2 separate regions of the Homo sapiens genome follow, and region 2 is linked to region 1. Evidence: promoter capture Hi-C in human tissues and cell types (Jung and others, 2019). All regions are on one chromosome and are shown on one strand. Each heading gives the region's core, a stretch centred on a gene start or on the middle of the fragment in contact. The rest is flanking DNA. Distances are from core to core; before and after follow the strand shown. Region 1 holds the start of RAB31 (RAB31, member RAS oncogene family). Region 2 has its middle 56 kb from the start of VAPA.

Region 1 (6,916 bases), core at 2,061-4,560:
TTCCTGTTAAAATGTTGAAAGAGCCTGGGCAACATAGGGAGACCCCATCTCTACAAAAATAATAAAAAGTATTAGCTGGGCTGGGTGGTACACACCTGTGGTCCCAGCTACTTGGCAGGCTGAGGTGGGAGGATCACCTGAGCTTGGGAGGCTGAGGCTGCAGTGAGCCAGGATGGCACCATTGCACTCCAGCCTGGGTGACAGAGTGAGACCCTATCTCAAAAATATACATATATTTTTTAAAGGACTTTTGGACTTAGCACTGACTGATCCACAGGGTCTCTCGAATCAAGAGAATAAACCTAGGCTGATGCAGAAGGATCCACTGAGCCCAGGAGTTGGAGGGTGCAGTGAGCTATGATGGCACCACTGCACTCCAGCCTGGATGACAGAATGTGACCTTGTCTCAAAACAAAAAAGAGGAGAGAGAGAGAGAGAGAAGAGAGTAAACCGAAGACAGTCAAATGGTTTTGATCTCCCTCAATGTTATCCCACCCAGAGAATCAGCCTAATTGGATGAGCAGCTAGAAACACAGCCTGCTGCACACATCTCACCCAGGAAAGAGCCAGCCAAACGAGGGGATGTGGCAAATCTTACTCAGTGTGGACAACAAGGTCATTTGGTCTTTCAAATAAAATGTCCTCTGATTTCAATAAAACTGAAACTTACAGCCACCCTCAAAAAAAAAAAAAGGAAGCCACAAATGTGGTGTGATATGACTGATGTTTCTTTTCTTTTGTTTTCTTTTCTTTGAGATAGAGTCTCACTCTGTCGCCCGGACTGGAGTGCAGTGGCGTGATTTCGGCTCACTGCAACCTCCACCTCCCAGGCTCAAGCGATTCTCCTGCCTCAGCCTCCCGAGTAGCTGGGATTACAAGCATGCGCCGCTACCGCCCAGCTAACTTTTTTTTGTATTTTTAATAGAGACGGGGTTTGACCATGTTGGCCAGGCTGGTCTTGAACTCCTGACCTCAAATGATCCCCCCGCCTCAGCCTCCCAAAGTGCTGGGATGACAGGTGTGAGCCAACGCGACCGGCCACGATTGATGTTTCAAAGCCTCCGTCTGCCCAGAAACCTCTTCTTTCTCTGCTTTGGCATGGTTCTTCCAACTCCAAGTTCAAATTCCTACACACAGAACTGGCAAAGGTAAGGCACTGTCTGCAGGAAGCCACTCAAAGAGTGTGTATCTTTCTTGGAGATAAAAGAAGTAAAGAGATTTCCTCCAGCTTCCTCCTCTCCCAGGTTTGCTAATTGGCACCCTGAACTCATAGATTAGCAGGAAATGGTAACATGTATCTTAAGAGATCATCTGGTGTAGTCCTCTGCCTAAAGGGGGAACATGTTATTATGCCCATTTCATAGATGAGGCCACTGAGTTGCTTTGCTAAAACGACACAGCTCTTTGGTGGGAAAGAACGAGAGCCTAGGTTTCCTGCCTCTTGACACAGGGTTCTTGCCACCTGATCAGTGTCCTGGTAGGAGGACATAGAGACCTGTCCCTAAACACCGAAACTGAAAATAAGGGGTCCTGTGACACGGCAGGGCTTGGACCACCTCAGTAAAAGTCAAGAGAAAAGAGTTGCAGAAAAAAAGGCAAAAATATGTCCTATTTCACCTTTCCCAAGGCCAGTCCTGACAAACACGGCACATCAAGGCTGCCTCTTCATTCCTTGGAACACGACATTCCTTCTAAGTCTCTGAAGGCCTTTCCTGAGGCTGAAATGGCCCCTCAAGAGGGAAGCATGGGATTCCTGGAATTTATGTCTGGAAATATTAGAGGGCCTGGGGAACAGGAAAACCCACTCCTGCCACACAAAAAGGTCAACAGAGAAAGACCAGACTAGATCCTGGCTGTGGCTGAGCAAGTCGGGGGAGGTGGGGATCTGTGCGGATCTGTGCCAGGGGCTAGCAGGGAGGGCAGGGCCTTCCCAGATCCTCTGGAATTCTAAGCCAACCGGACAATCGAGTTAGCGTAAGGGATGGTTTTGGAAGAGGCCGGTGATGGGAGCCGATGATGGGAGCCTGCCGGAGGTTCCACAAGAGCCTAGAGGAAGCCTAGAGACGCTGGCACAATTCAGTCCTCACCGAAATCATTTCCTCTTTCTACAGTTCTTGTACCCCCATCTTGACAGATCAGTTCGCACAAGAATGCGACCCTTTCGCTGCCCTTTTTTAGGAAATGGTTTTCATGAGACCAGCTTTGCCAATGACACGGGCGGGTACACCAGATGCTAATGGCTGCTGAAAACGCCCTTAGAACCGGCTCTTCTTTTAGAAGAAGGAATTCTGGAATGCGGAGTGGGCCCCCGAAAGGAAGCGACCCTACGTTTATCTGAATTCCCAGGGGCGGTTCGCCAGCGGCTCCCTGCGTCCTCGCCGGGTCCCCTGTCTGCAGTCCCCGGGCCGCACGGATTGACTGCTTTTTTGTTTCTGGCTGCTTTAAGGCTTCTTCGGGCGGAGAAAACCCCACTTTAGGGGAGTGATGGTGGGGAGGACTTTCCCAGGCAGCTTCTTTCACCCGCAGCAGGGAAGTTTGCAGGGCGCGCTCCGCACAGGTCACTGCCTCACCTTCCACCCCGGCCGCGCCCTCGGCTTTCACCCCCTTGGCTGGGTTCGCTTTTGGTTTTATTTTTCTGTTTTACGTGAGTAAATCAATTGCCCCCAGGAGGCAAAAGAGCACTCAGCGACTTGGCTGAGCAACTTAAACTTTCTGCCGGAAGGAAACTATCAAAAGCGGAGGAGAAAGCCCTCGGGGCCCCAGACTCGCCGCCACTGCCCCGTCCCCGCTGGGGGTCCCCGCGAGGTCGCCGCGGATCCGGGGACTCGCGGGCCGGGAGGAAAGAGCGGAGTAAGCCCGGGGCAGGCTCGGACCCGGACCCCGGCAGGGTGAGAGCGGGGGCGGACCAGAGGGGCGCACGGACGGCGGGGAGGCGGAGAACAGGCGGGGTGCGGAGAGCGAGGGGCGCGGAGAGCGAGGGGCGCACGGACTAGGGGAGCCAGGGGGACCCGGGGAACCAGGGGGCGCGCGGACGAGGGGGACGGGGGCTACGAGAGGGGTGCGGAGAGCGAGGGGATCACGGGGACTGAGCGCGCAGGGAATAGGGGAGCGAAGGGGCGCGAGAGCGCGGGCCGGGGTCCGCCGGCGGGTGGCGGCCAGGACTCACCCCGAGAAGGCACACTTTGAGCTCCCGTATCGCCATCATGTGCTCGCAGCCAGGCAGTGCCGGGGCTCAGCAGCATCCTCCGGGGCCGCCGCGCCCGCGCCCCGCCGGCGTCTCTCGCCTCTGCCCCTCGCTCGCGCCGCCCGCGGGCGGAACCGCCGCCGCTGCTATTTCTGGGCCGCCGGCCCCGCCGCGGTGGGTCACGTGGCCGCCGGCCGGCTCCTCCCGGGCGCGTCGGGTCCAGCCTCGCCGGCCCCCAGCTCCCAGGAACGCCCCCGGACGGCGTCAGCCACCCGGGACCTGCGGCGTCGCCGGCGGATTGCCTCCGCCCTCGGACCAGCCCCGCGCGGGTCGGCCTCCCCCAGCGCCCTCCGGCATCCGCCCCTCCCGGCCCCGCCTGGCCGCAGGGCCCGGGTGGGTAGGAAGGACTGGACCGGCCCTGTGGAGACCTGGCCCCACTACCAGCGGGTCCCTGAAGATGCCATTCTCATCTGGAAAGCGAATGCTCTCGGCCGAGGCCGTTTGCGTGGCAGCGCGTGGAGGTCTGCGGGGGTCCCATCCTCAAGCGACATTCTGGGTCCCACGCAGAAAAAGTCAGGCCACTGAAGGGGCCGCTGTGAGGACAGGGGTGAGGAGAAGGGGGCTAACTTTTCGGCCTGCCTTTCTCGACGTTCCTAATACCCGAGCTTCCGTTTAACATATGTGTGGCTCTTCAGCTCAGCCAAGTTCATTTTTCTGTATGCAGCTGAAAATGATTCTAGAAGCAAAACTCGCTGTCCGTGTCTGAAACGGGAAACTTGCTTTCTGGAGCAAAAGTCTTTTTCTCAGTAGAGCAAATCCTGCAACTCGTGTGGGCAGAAACCCAGTCCTCAGAGGTACAGGTAGAAACGTGGAGATCCCAGCAGACCCCTGCATCGTTCCTAACTGGGAAATGAGCAGAGTCTGTGGCCGCACACAGTCGGGGAGGCTTGGGTAACTGTGTTCTCTTCTCCATGTATGGCCTAGAGCACCTCATCCACTCGGATGACTTCATTCGTTGCTGCTACAGAAATGTCAGCCTTTTCAATGTAATCTATCTGAACAATTCACTGGCATTTCAGATGGGAAATGTTTTTTTAAAAACTGATTTTTTGAAACTTCATCTCCTATCCCAAACTCTCAGGCCTCTCTCTTAACCTTCCAATTTTAATCAATGGCATTTCCATTCTCCTAGCAGACCACCCACCGTGATCATCTGGCTTTGTTCTTACGGAAGCCAGGTTGAAGCTACCCAGTACCCAAGTAGCCCCATCCAATGGGAAATTCCAAATCAAGGCCTCCAAAGAGATAAGTCCTGGAATACAGGAGTCAAAATGGGCCCCGAAACAGACAATTCACAATTAAATTCCCCAGAAGAGCAGGAAGTTTGCCCTCGAGGTGCAGGCTTGTAGAGATTACTCAAATGGACTAAACTGTACAAAAGGCAGCCATGGACAAGTTACAGGTCCATTGTATCAGTATCCGTCCTTGACTCTGTATCCAAAGCAGAGTCTTCTATGTGGGCAGGGTAAAAAGAGGCTTCCCCAGAATCAAACAGTCCTGATCACAATATCTCCCTGCCCTCAGATTTGCTAATCAGAAAACCACCCCTACACAGTTGCAAAGACACCTCCCCCAAGGCCTTCGCCAGCCCTGAGGGCACCTCCACAGTGAAACATGTCCTTTTGGCTTTCCAGCTTGATTCCCAAAAGCCAGTCAAACCAGGGTGGAAGCCTCCACTGTGTTCTACATCCCGTGCAGTGAGTGGAGCTTTGTGAAGTTGCCTTAGATTGCTAAGGGCAGAACTGTGCCCAGACAGAAATAGGCAAACCGAATTTCTCTTGTGTTCCCTTACTCTTTTTCATGACTGCTCTCATTCTGCTCTCTTCTCCACTAGCCCGGGTGTCTGGGACGCTTGCGTCGTTTCTAGGCTCTCCCAAAAGAGTCTCGTATCCAGCCCTTCCCTCCCTGAGAATCGCCCCAGTCTATTTGTCCTTCTCCCCTCCCCTAGTTCTGTTAAAAATGACCTCATTTGTGTCTCATTCTGATCAGGTCTTGGGCTCTTCTTTACAAAGTGGCAATCCTAGTCTGTCAACTGACTCGTGTTCATGGGTTTATACCCTCTTCCCAGCCAGGTCACCCCTGAGCTTAAACATGGCCTCATGAAAACCAGGTCCCCATGATCACCCTAAGGTAACCTACAAAGCTCTAGCCCTGGAAGGCAGGAAGATGACTGCTGGGAGACATATTTTAAGAGTGACACGTCAGAGGCAGCTCTCGACTTTTTAAAAAAGTGCCATGTTCTCTATTGTTACACTCTATGATTACTGTACTAAGGGCCCATCCTGACTTCTCTGGAATTTTCTGCAAATATGTAGTTCTGGTGTAACTTCAGCAGGGGTAAAAATTCAATGGTACATAACTGACAATTTATCAAATTAAGAAATAGAACATGCAAGTTTTTCTTATAAGAATTTTGTAACGTAAATGGTCATTGTGCTAATTCAGACCTCAACTTCTCTGCTGCTATAAAGTCTCCAACAGAAAAAGCCAGTAATGGTCATAAAACTGATCATGTTTTTTGATTCAGGAAATCCTTTTTTGAACAATAACATACAAAGACGAAAAGTAAACAAAGCTGCCTGTTTGAATATAAACACATATGCAGACAAAAAAAACAAATAAATGGGTTAGAGAAACAACAACAAAAAAATTACATCCATGGAGGTAAAGGGAGGATTGTTGCGTTAATTGTAACTCAAACCTCTTAACACTTGAGGAATGATTAAGCAAGCTAGGGTGTCGTTACTGGGTATATTTGATGGTGTACAATAGTATATGTTACTTAGATATTAAATGAAATGTGTATACTATGTAGATTTATAGAGACGTTTATAGTAAATAAGGTTCTGTGAAAATAATATGACTCAAAATGTTAAATAGGATAAGCAATATAAATGTGTCACAACGCCCTGGAGTGCAGGCTGATCCCTGGAGACCAGTACTGAGTCATCTGGTCTGCTCAAGGGCCAATTAAGGAAAGATAAAAATGTTTACAAACCTTGTTTTTCATAATTTATCTTTTTTATGGAACTATAGTGTCTGCAATATCAGTTAAACAGCCTTTTAGTATTTCTCATTTATGTAACAACTCCTTCCTTCCTTCTTTCCTTCCTTCTTTCCTTCTCTTTCTGAAACTTTCTAAATAGCATGTGCTACCTAACCTTATTTGTAACCCACGCCCTTTAAACAAATTTTGAGGAGATGAATCCTGGACATACCAGGGTAGGAAAGGGATTTGAGGGATTTAGAAAAACAGAGGTGAGTGGACCCCACAATTCACCCACAGACTTGAAAAAGGAGACAATAGCTGGAGGGGGGAGGCTGGAAACTGAAGGAGCCTGTCTGTGGGAAAGGGAGCGTCCCTGAGAACCCCAAGGAAGGTGGCTGCTCGGTGGAGGGGCTATTAGGTAAGCGGATAGAAACTGCACAGCCTCCTTTGCAATTCCAGATGTCTTCATGTGGAAAGTGTGGTGACATCTTAGATGGGAGATGGGGAGGGTGGGGGCTCGCCTCCTCATCGTCTCCATCGCCTCAAATGGGAGTGCTCAGAAGTGTTCCAGAACAAGTAGACAGCTCTCACTGAAGACAGGGAAGGCTCTGTTGGGATCTCACAAAGGATTGGTGTCAGGTGATAATGTTTAAATTTTCCAGATTCCTGAGAGCCAGCACTGG
Region 2 (6,916 bases), core at 2,285-4,784, 260 kb before region 1:
GGCTCCACCCTGTGCAAAACCACTCCCTGAGGCCCCACCCGCTTCAGTCCCATTCTATGCAAAATCCTTCCCTGAGGCCACCCACACACATGAGGGGGTGACAGGGAGCCTCAGAGCTGGATGAGAACCAGAGACCCCCCAATCCCACAGCCACTGAGTCACCTGACACACACACTCCATGAGAACAGAGCAGGTGATTAAGGAGGAAGTTAAAACAATGAACGGTTATTAAAAATAAAAACACAGCATTCCCTGAAGGGATTTTTTTTAATTATTGGATTAAGACTAAATTTCATATCAAACAGAACTAAAAATGATTTTCCTCTCATCCTCTACCTAGCAGGTGAGAAATATCACTTTATCCATGAAACAAAGAAATAACATTTTCTCAGTCATGTGAGCTATGATTTAAGTCTGGAATCACCCCACGCCGCCTGTGTAACCCACAATATAGAGCACCAGTGTGTCAGTTTCCAATTGCTGCCATAACAAATTACCACGAATGTAGTGACTTACACAGCACAAATTCATTCTTGCAAGTCTAGAGGTCAGAAGTCAAATGGGTCTCACTGGTTAAAATCAAGGTGTCAGCAGGGCGGTACGCCTTCTAGAGGCTCTACAAGAGAATCTATTTTATGTCTTTTCCAGCTTCCTGAGGCCACCACATTCCTTGGCTTCTAAGCCCTTATTCAAGCCCTTTCCTCCATCTTCAAAGCCAGCAGCATCTGGCTGAGGCCTTTTCATGCTGCCATCTCTTTGGTTCTCACCTTTCCAGCCATAGAAACTCTTATGATTACATTGGACCCACCAGGATAACCCAGAATAATCTCCCTACCTGAAAGTCATTGGATTAGCAACCTTAATTATATGGGCAACCTTAATTCCCCTTTGCTGTGTAATCTAACGTATTCACAGGTTCCGGGGATTAGGGTGTGGATATCTTTGGGGGCCCCTTGTTCTGCCAACCATACCTGGTAAACCTTTTTCCTCTGTGGAAAGGGGAGATATGGGCCTGTTGGAGGGATTGCAGGAGCCAATGTAAGTAAACTGACAGCCACAGAGTAGGCGTTCATTCGTTTGTGGGTGATTCCCCCCTTGATCAAGCTCTGGGTCTGAGGCCTGCTCTAATCCATGGCCTGGCCCCTTGGTCTAACCCCATGGCTGTCACCTGGCCCAGACCAAGTGACATTTTCACCAAGTGCAATGGAGACACTCAGGAATTATGATTTTTGTCAAAGATAACCATCTTCTTCATCCTTAGCTCTTAGGTAGGGTGGTATGTTGAATGCACAGGCATGGTGTATGTGAATTTAGATCCATTCCAAACAGATGTTTGCAATACCAGAGGAACACGCCTGCCTGCCTGCCTGCCTGAGAGCACACGCGTTAAAGCTAAACTGAGTTCAAAAGCATTCAAGTTAATGAGATGGCCCTCATTAGAGTTCCAAAACAGTAAACTCAAAGACAATTGTGTCTTAACATTTTCAGCAATAAAAAAGTTAGGACTTTTTTGCTTTTTAAATTACTGTTTTTTTAAGCCCTTATTCAAGCTTGCTTTCCCCTCAGTCAGAGCTTCCAGTTGACAATGGGTGGACAAGATAGGCTATTTACATGTTAACATGTTGGGGGTGTGGTAAGAGAGATGTACATAGAACCCAGAATTTAATCATGAAATCAAAAAGTTATTCAACATTTGAGGGAAGGATCAGGTAAAGAAAAACACATAATGCCTTCTGTAATTATAAGACATTATAAAAAATTAATGCTTTCAACAAAGTAAGTCACACAGATGAAAGTTAGTAATGAAATTAAAGGTATTATTCTACTATATATTTTCATCAAAGATACCACAAAAGCTTACCCACATTATCACTGTAATTAGCCTAATTTTCTACTGGAAAAACAAACTCTTATATCTTCTAAGGGAGAGTGGAGAAGTTTTATATCTATCCTTAGAATCAAAAAGAAAGCTTCCTTCAGCCTGCAATTACAGTTTGCACTAAAAACTTAATAGTTTGATTTTGTTTGAGATGTGGGTTTTTGAAAGGAATTGGTTTATACTGTCTGTACTAAATGTCTATCAGTACAGACAGTGTAAACCAACTTGGGTTTTCCATCGTGCAGAAAGCCTCAAGACACAAGACCACACTGCCACCTCGTGGCAGGATCAGATTTTACAACAGTTGAATTTAATGGTTCACCAGCCTTCAAGTTACTATTCAGAATCACCAGCCTTCAAGTTACTATTCAGAATGTGAAAAGCGTGTGTTCTAGGTGGTTATAGTTTAGCACTAAGAAAAACAAGAGTCCGGGGACAGGTTGTTGGAGGTGCTGAATTAAAACAATTTTTTGGAGTGCTAAATCTTCCCATGGCTTCCTAGGAAAGGCGCTAGCCCAATTCCTTCTGCACCATCTAAAATTCAATGAGAAAGGGGCCCCTGGAGTGGAGTGACACCGGTTCCTCCAAGGACCCTCTGTTGTGTACATTAAAATTCAGCAGTGCCATTTAGCAAAAATTAAATCAGTAAGGCTTTGGAGGTTAGGAAACCAAATACACTTATTTACCTAGTTTTAGAAACCAAAAAGAAAAAAGCTCCAAGTATAGGAAATGCTTGAATCTGATGAAATGCTTGGGATCCCCATCCCAAACACGCCACAATTGTTAAAATATTGGGGTTGATGTTACGGAAAATTCCCTAAGAAAAATGATTTAGGACAATAGCCACCAGTTTACAGACAAAAACAGAAGGATGGCAAGCTGCACGTTCAGGGTGATGGGGGAATTAGAGGTGTGGCTCTCCAAGGCTCCTGAAATGTCCACCGTGTGGTCATTCTTGGAGGACGGAAGCTTTGTGATCCTAAAATAATTAAATAAGGTGATTCCTATTTTTAAAGCAACAGAATTTGCATATAACCATAATTGTTGTATAATCTTGACCCAGTTATCCAAATTAAGGCCCCAGATATCTTCCTAATCTGATGATGAAGTAGTCAAGCACCACGTCGCTTTCCCCAGAGCCCCTTCTCTAAATACAAGGACATGGCAGGGTGGCTTCCTCCATCGCCCCCGCTGAGAGAGCAGGACCCGCAAGTGCCTCAGACTCATTCCTGCAGAACCAAGCCCGGCTTGCTGGTCTCTGCGGCGGCACCAGCCCTGCTCCACGTTCTTCCCAAGCGGAGGCCTGAGATATTTCCACCAACTCCTCAGAGGGTGAGAAAGAAGTTTCGAGGGTTTCCCTTCAGGAGAACCACCAGCTTTTCATGATCCACTCTTCAGACCCACACCCGCAACCAAGGCTGGCCATGAACTCTGGTGGCTGAGCTGAGAGGGTGTCACCTGAGGGAAGGATCCTGCATCGTCACCTTTCTCTTGTGCTTGAGAGAGGGCCTGGACACAGACAAGTCCCCTTGAAGCTAAAGGAACCTCCCAGGCTCTGCAACTACCATCTCCCCCCGTGGGAAAACACCAAATTCCACAAAGCCACAGGCCAATCCTCTCCCCTCCCACTCCCTGGGCCCGGGGAGAGGAAGTCCCACCTTTCCCAAGGGTCAAGGCTTGCCTGCTTTCCAAATGGCCACTTCCAGGATGGCTTTCCAGAAAAGTCTCCATGCAGGCACACCTATATGTTTCCAGAAAAGTCTCAACGCAGTCCCTGCAGTCTAAGGCCAGCATCGGCCCATCTCCCAAAGTCAGTGTGGTGTGGCTTAACACACCGGCTCACCCTAAATGTGCACTGAAGGGGCCCTGAACTACAATGAAGGGGACGCCCCGAGCCAGCAAACCCCGAGGGGCTGGGCGTGCCAGGCAGCTGTGGAGCCGGTGGAAGCAGTGAAGTTGGCAGCACTGGCATCGAATGCCAGCCAGGGAACCAAGAAAAGGCCACTCTTAGTAAGAAAGTGGTGACTTCGTGAGTGGAAGAGTTGAGGTAAGAAGTTATGGCCATAGAGGATATTTCTGCAACTCGGATGAAAGGATCGCTGTGATTGGAAAGCAGTTATCTGCAGCCGAGATTTCAGAGATGTTTCTGCCCAGTGGTGACAAAAACTCTCCCTCAGGACAGTGAATGACAGGTGTGTGAAGAAAGTGCCCTGGAAGGGGGAGGTCAACAAACAGCAACCCGCCCAGCGATGACCCCCGAGAGCGTGGCGGGCAGGGGAGGGTGCAGGCTGGAAGAGGGAAGGAGCGAGGTGGGCTGAGGGCGGCGCGAGCTGGAAACAAGCCTGGGCTGTTGCAAGAGGGAGGAAAGAAAACCTCAGAACAGGCGTGAAAACGAGGAAGGAAACCAGCCCCTCCTCCCAGCGTGGAAGGGTCTTCTCCATTCCAGACCACAGCAGGGCCCCCAGGAGACATCTCAGCTTCTGTTGGAGCCTGGCGGCAAAAGGCTGTCCCTAGAAGATGAAGAGCGAGGAGGTTTGTGGATCCCATATGGGAAGTCTGGAGCTCTGCGCAGAAATGAAGATGAGGAGAAGCAGGCGGGGTAGGTTTCAGTTGAGGCAGGGCTTTCAGATTTTTCTTTTAACCACAATCCGTAGTAAGAGCCCATTTTATATGGCTACCCCGTGTGCATGCACAATTGTGCGTTTTCTCTCTCTCCTTTCAAAAAAGACTTACTGAGCACCTAACTGTATGCCAGGCCGTTAACAGGCACTGGGGAGGCAGCAGTGAACAAAACGTCTGAAAGCGCTGCTCTTAGGGAGCTTGCGTTCTGGTGGAGGAGCAGACCGCAAGAGAAATGAAGACAGGTATGGCACATTCCATGGGGGTGAGGGGAGCCCGAGCGAGGGGCCAGAGTGTGAAGGGACGGTGCCATTGTTCAGTTGGAGAGACCCAGGAAGGCCTCACGGAGAAGGTGACCTAAGTGAAGGCTGGGAGAGCTGAGGAGTGAGCCCCGCGGACACACAGAGGACAGCACTGGGGCAGAGGCCACAGCGGGTATAGGCTCCGGGACTGGAATGTGCGAATGCTCCGTGAATATCCAGAGACCAGCGTGACGGCAGAACGACGTGGGGCGAGTGGAGGGAGAAGGAATGGGGCTAGAGGGGGAAGCGGGGTCAGGGCAGGGACGCTGGAGCCCTGCGGGCCAGTGCCAGCTCCCCACTCTTACTCACGGTGAAGGGGGACGGCTTGGAGAGTCTGAGCACAGGAAAACACCCCTCCGACCTGTGTTTAACAGGACCGCTCTGGTTCCTGCTCTAAGACAGGCTGAGGGGACACGGGGGCGCCTGGGAGACCTGCTGAGACTGTCGAGGAAATGAAGGAAATAGAGGGGACAAAACATGGAAGTGGCAAGAAGCAGCTGGGTTCTGGGTGTGTTTTGAAAGTAGAGCCAGCAGCAGCGTTGACAAGACGGGCTGTGCTGTGGCATGGGAAGGAAGGGAATGCTCCAAGCAAGGATGACTCCGAGGTTTGAGTGAAGGAAAGAATGCGGATGGGGGAGGCCTGCATGGAGCAAGCCTGGGTGTGAGGGAGACTGGATTCAGTTCTGGACATATTAAGTCCGAGGTATCGGACACATGGCCAAAGTCGTTGGGGATGTAAGTCTATAATTCGAGGACATATCTGGGCTGGGAGCAGGGAAGAGGGGCGAGGGGACAGATGGAAAGCCGGCGCTCTGTGGTTACGAAGAAAGAGAGCCCGGGAGAGCCGAGAGTCACCCTCACCGATCTGTGATAGGGAAGGGTCACAAGTTCCCACCCGCGACTCAGGAAGTACCCCTGATTTGGGGAGCACCGGCCCTGCCCTAGGGGGAGTGCGATGGTGGGGGTGAGGGGACGCTGGAGCAGGAACAGGATGCGGGCGCTGCGGAGACCCAGAGGACCAGAAGCACCAGTGAAATCCAAATCTTTCAGACAAGCGCAGTGTCGATAACAAACTTTGAACTGAATATGAAAAAGAGCCTGAACTAACCTGAAAGGGGCTGAAGGGGACGATAAGACCAAAGGAAACGGAGATCCGTTGAAAGGCTAAGGTTTCATTGGCTCTGACTGGGTCTCTCCGTGGTCTCTGAAGCACTGGGATGTACTGACTGGCTCGGATACAGACCTTCTACTTTCCCAGTTGCCAGAGACCTGGCCCAGGCTGAAGAGCACCGACTGAGGGAGTGGGGGAAATGATGCCCCGGAACATGTTCACATCCTAACCCCCAGAATCCCTGAATATGTAACCTTCCATGAAGGGACTTTGGCTGTGATTAAGTGAAGGCTCTTGAGATGGAGAGATGGCCCTGGATCAGCCAGGTGGGCCCAGTGTCATCGCAGGGGTACCTGTAACAGGAAGGCAGGAGGGTCACAGAAGGAGAAGAGATGGTGGAAGCAGAGGTTGGTGTCATGTGACCGCAGGAGGGGCCACACAAGCCAAGGAATGTGGGTGGCCCCTCGATGATGGAAAAGGCCAGGAATGGAGTCTGCCCTGGAGCCCAGCTGATATTTTAATTTAGATAAAGGAGAGGGACTTTAGGATAAATTTGTGTTGGTTTTTGTCACTAAATTTGTGGTAACCTTGTACAGTCACAACAGACAACTACAGTAGTCCCCCCGCTTATACTCAGGGGATACATTCCAAGACCCCCAGTGGATGCCTGAAACCAGAGGTACTACCAAACCCTGTATACACATTTTTCCTATTCATACATACTTATGAATAGGAAATTTATACATAAACATAAAGTTTAATGTATAAATTAGGGACAATAAGATCAACAATAACTAATAAAAGAGAACAATTATAACAATATACTGTAATACCAGTTATGTGAAGGTGCATGCTCACACTCTTTCTCAAAATATCTCACTGTACTGTACATATGCTGCTCAACCTACAATGGCTTATGTCCCAATAAACCCATCACACATTAAAATACTGCATATCAAAAATACACTTAATACACCTCATCTACCAAACATCATGGCTTAGCCT

What was found. Contacts are between HindIII fragments. The study calls those that stand out against the background at their distance.
Region 2: a fragment that was not itself captured here is called in contact with the fragment with the promoter of RAB31 in region 1 in 2 of the 25 tissues and cell types used here (dorsolateral prefrontal cortex and mesenchymal stem cells).

What each region holds. Positions count from the first base shown.
Region 1 is chr18:9,704,695-9,711,610 of GRCh38, reverse strand. It overlaps RAB31 (RAB31, member RAS oncogene family), which reads right to left and starts at 3,310. Exons shown (of 7, transcript NM_006868.4): 1 at 3,167-3,310. The coding sequence starts at 3,205. LOC124904244 (a long non-coding RNA gene) reads left to right here and starts at 3,639. Exons shown (of 2, transcript XR_007066281.1): 1 at 3,639-6,916. LOC105371981 (a long non-coding RNA gene) reads right to left here and starts at 2,939. Exons shown (of 2, transcript XR_935131.2): 1 at 1,618-2,939. RefSeq lists silencers at 2,716-2,945, 3,046-3,615. The HindIII fragment of the contact is 12,091 bases long and covers 1-6,916 here.
Region 2 is chr18:9,966,753-9,973,668 of GRCh38, reverse strand. No RefSeq gene overlaps it. Among named protein-coding and RNA genes, the nearest start is that of VAPA, 56 kb to the right of the region's middle. The HindIII fragment of the contact is 3,242 bases long and covers 1,914-5,155 here.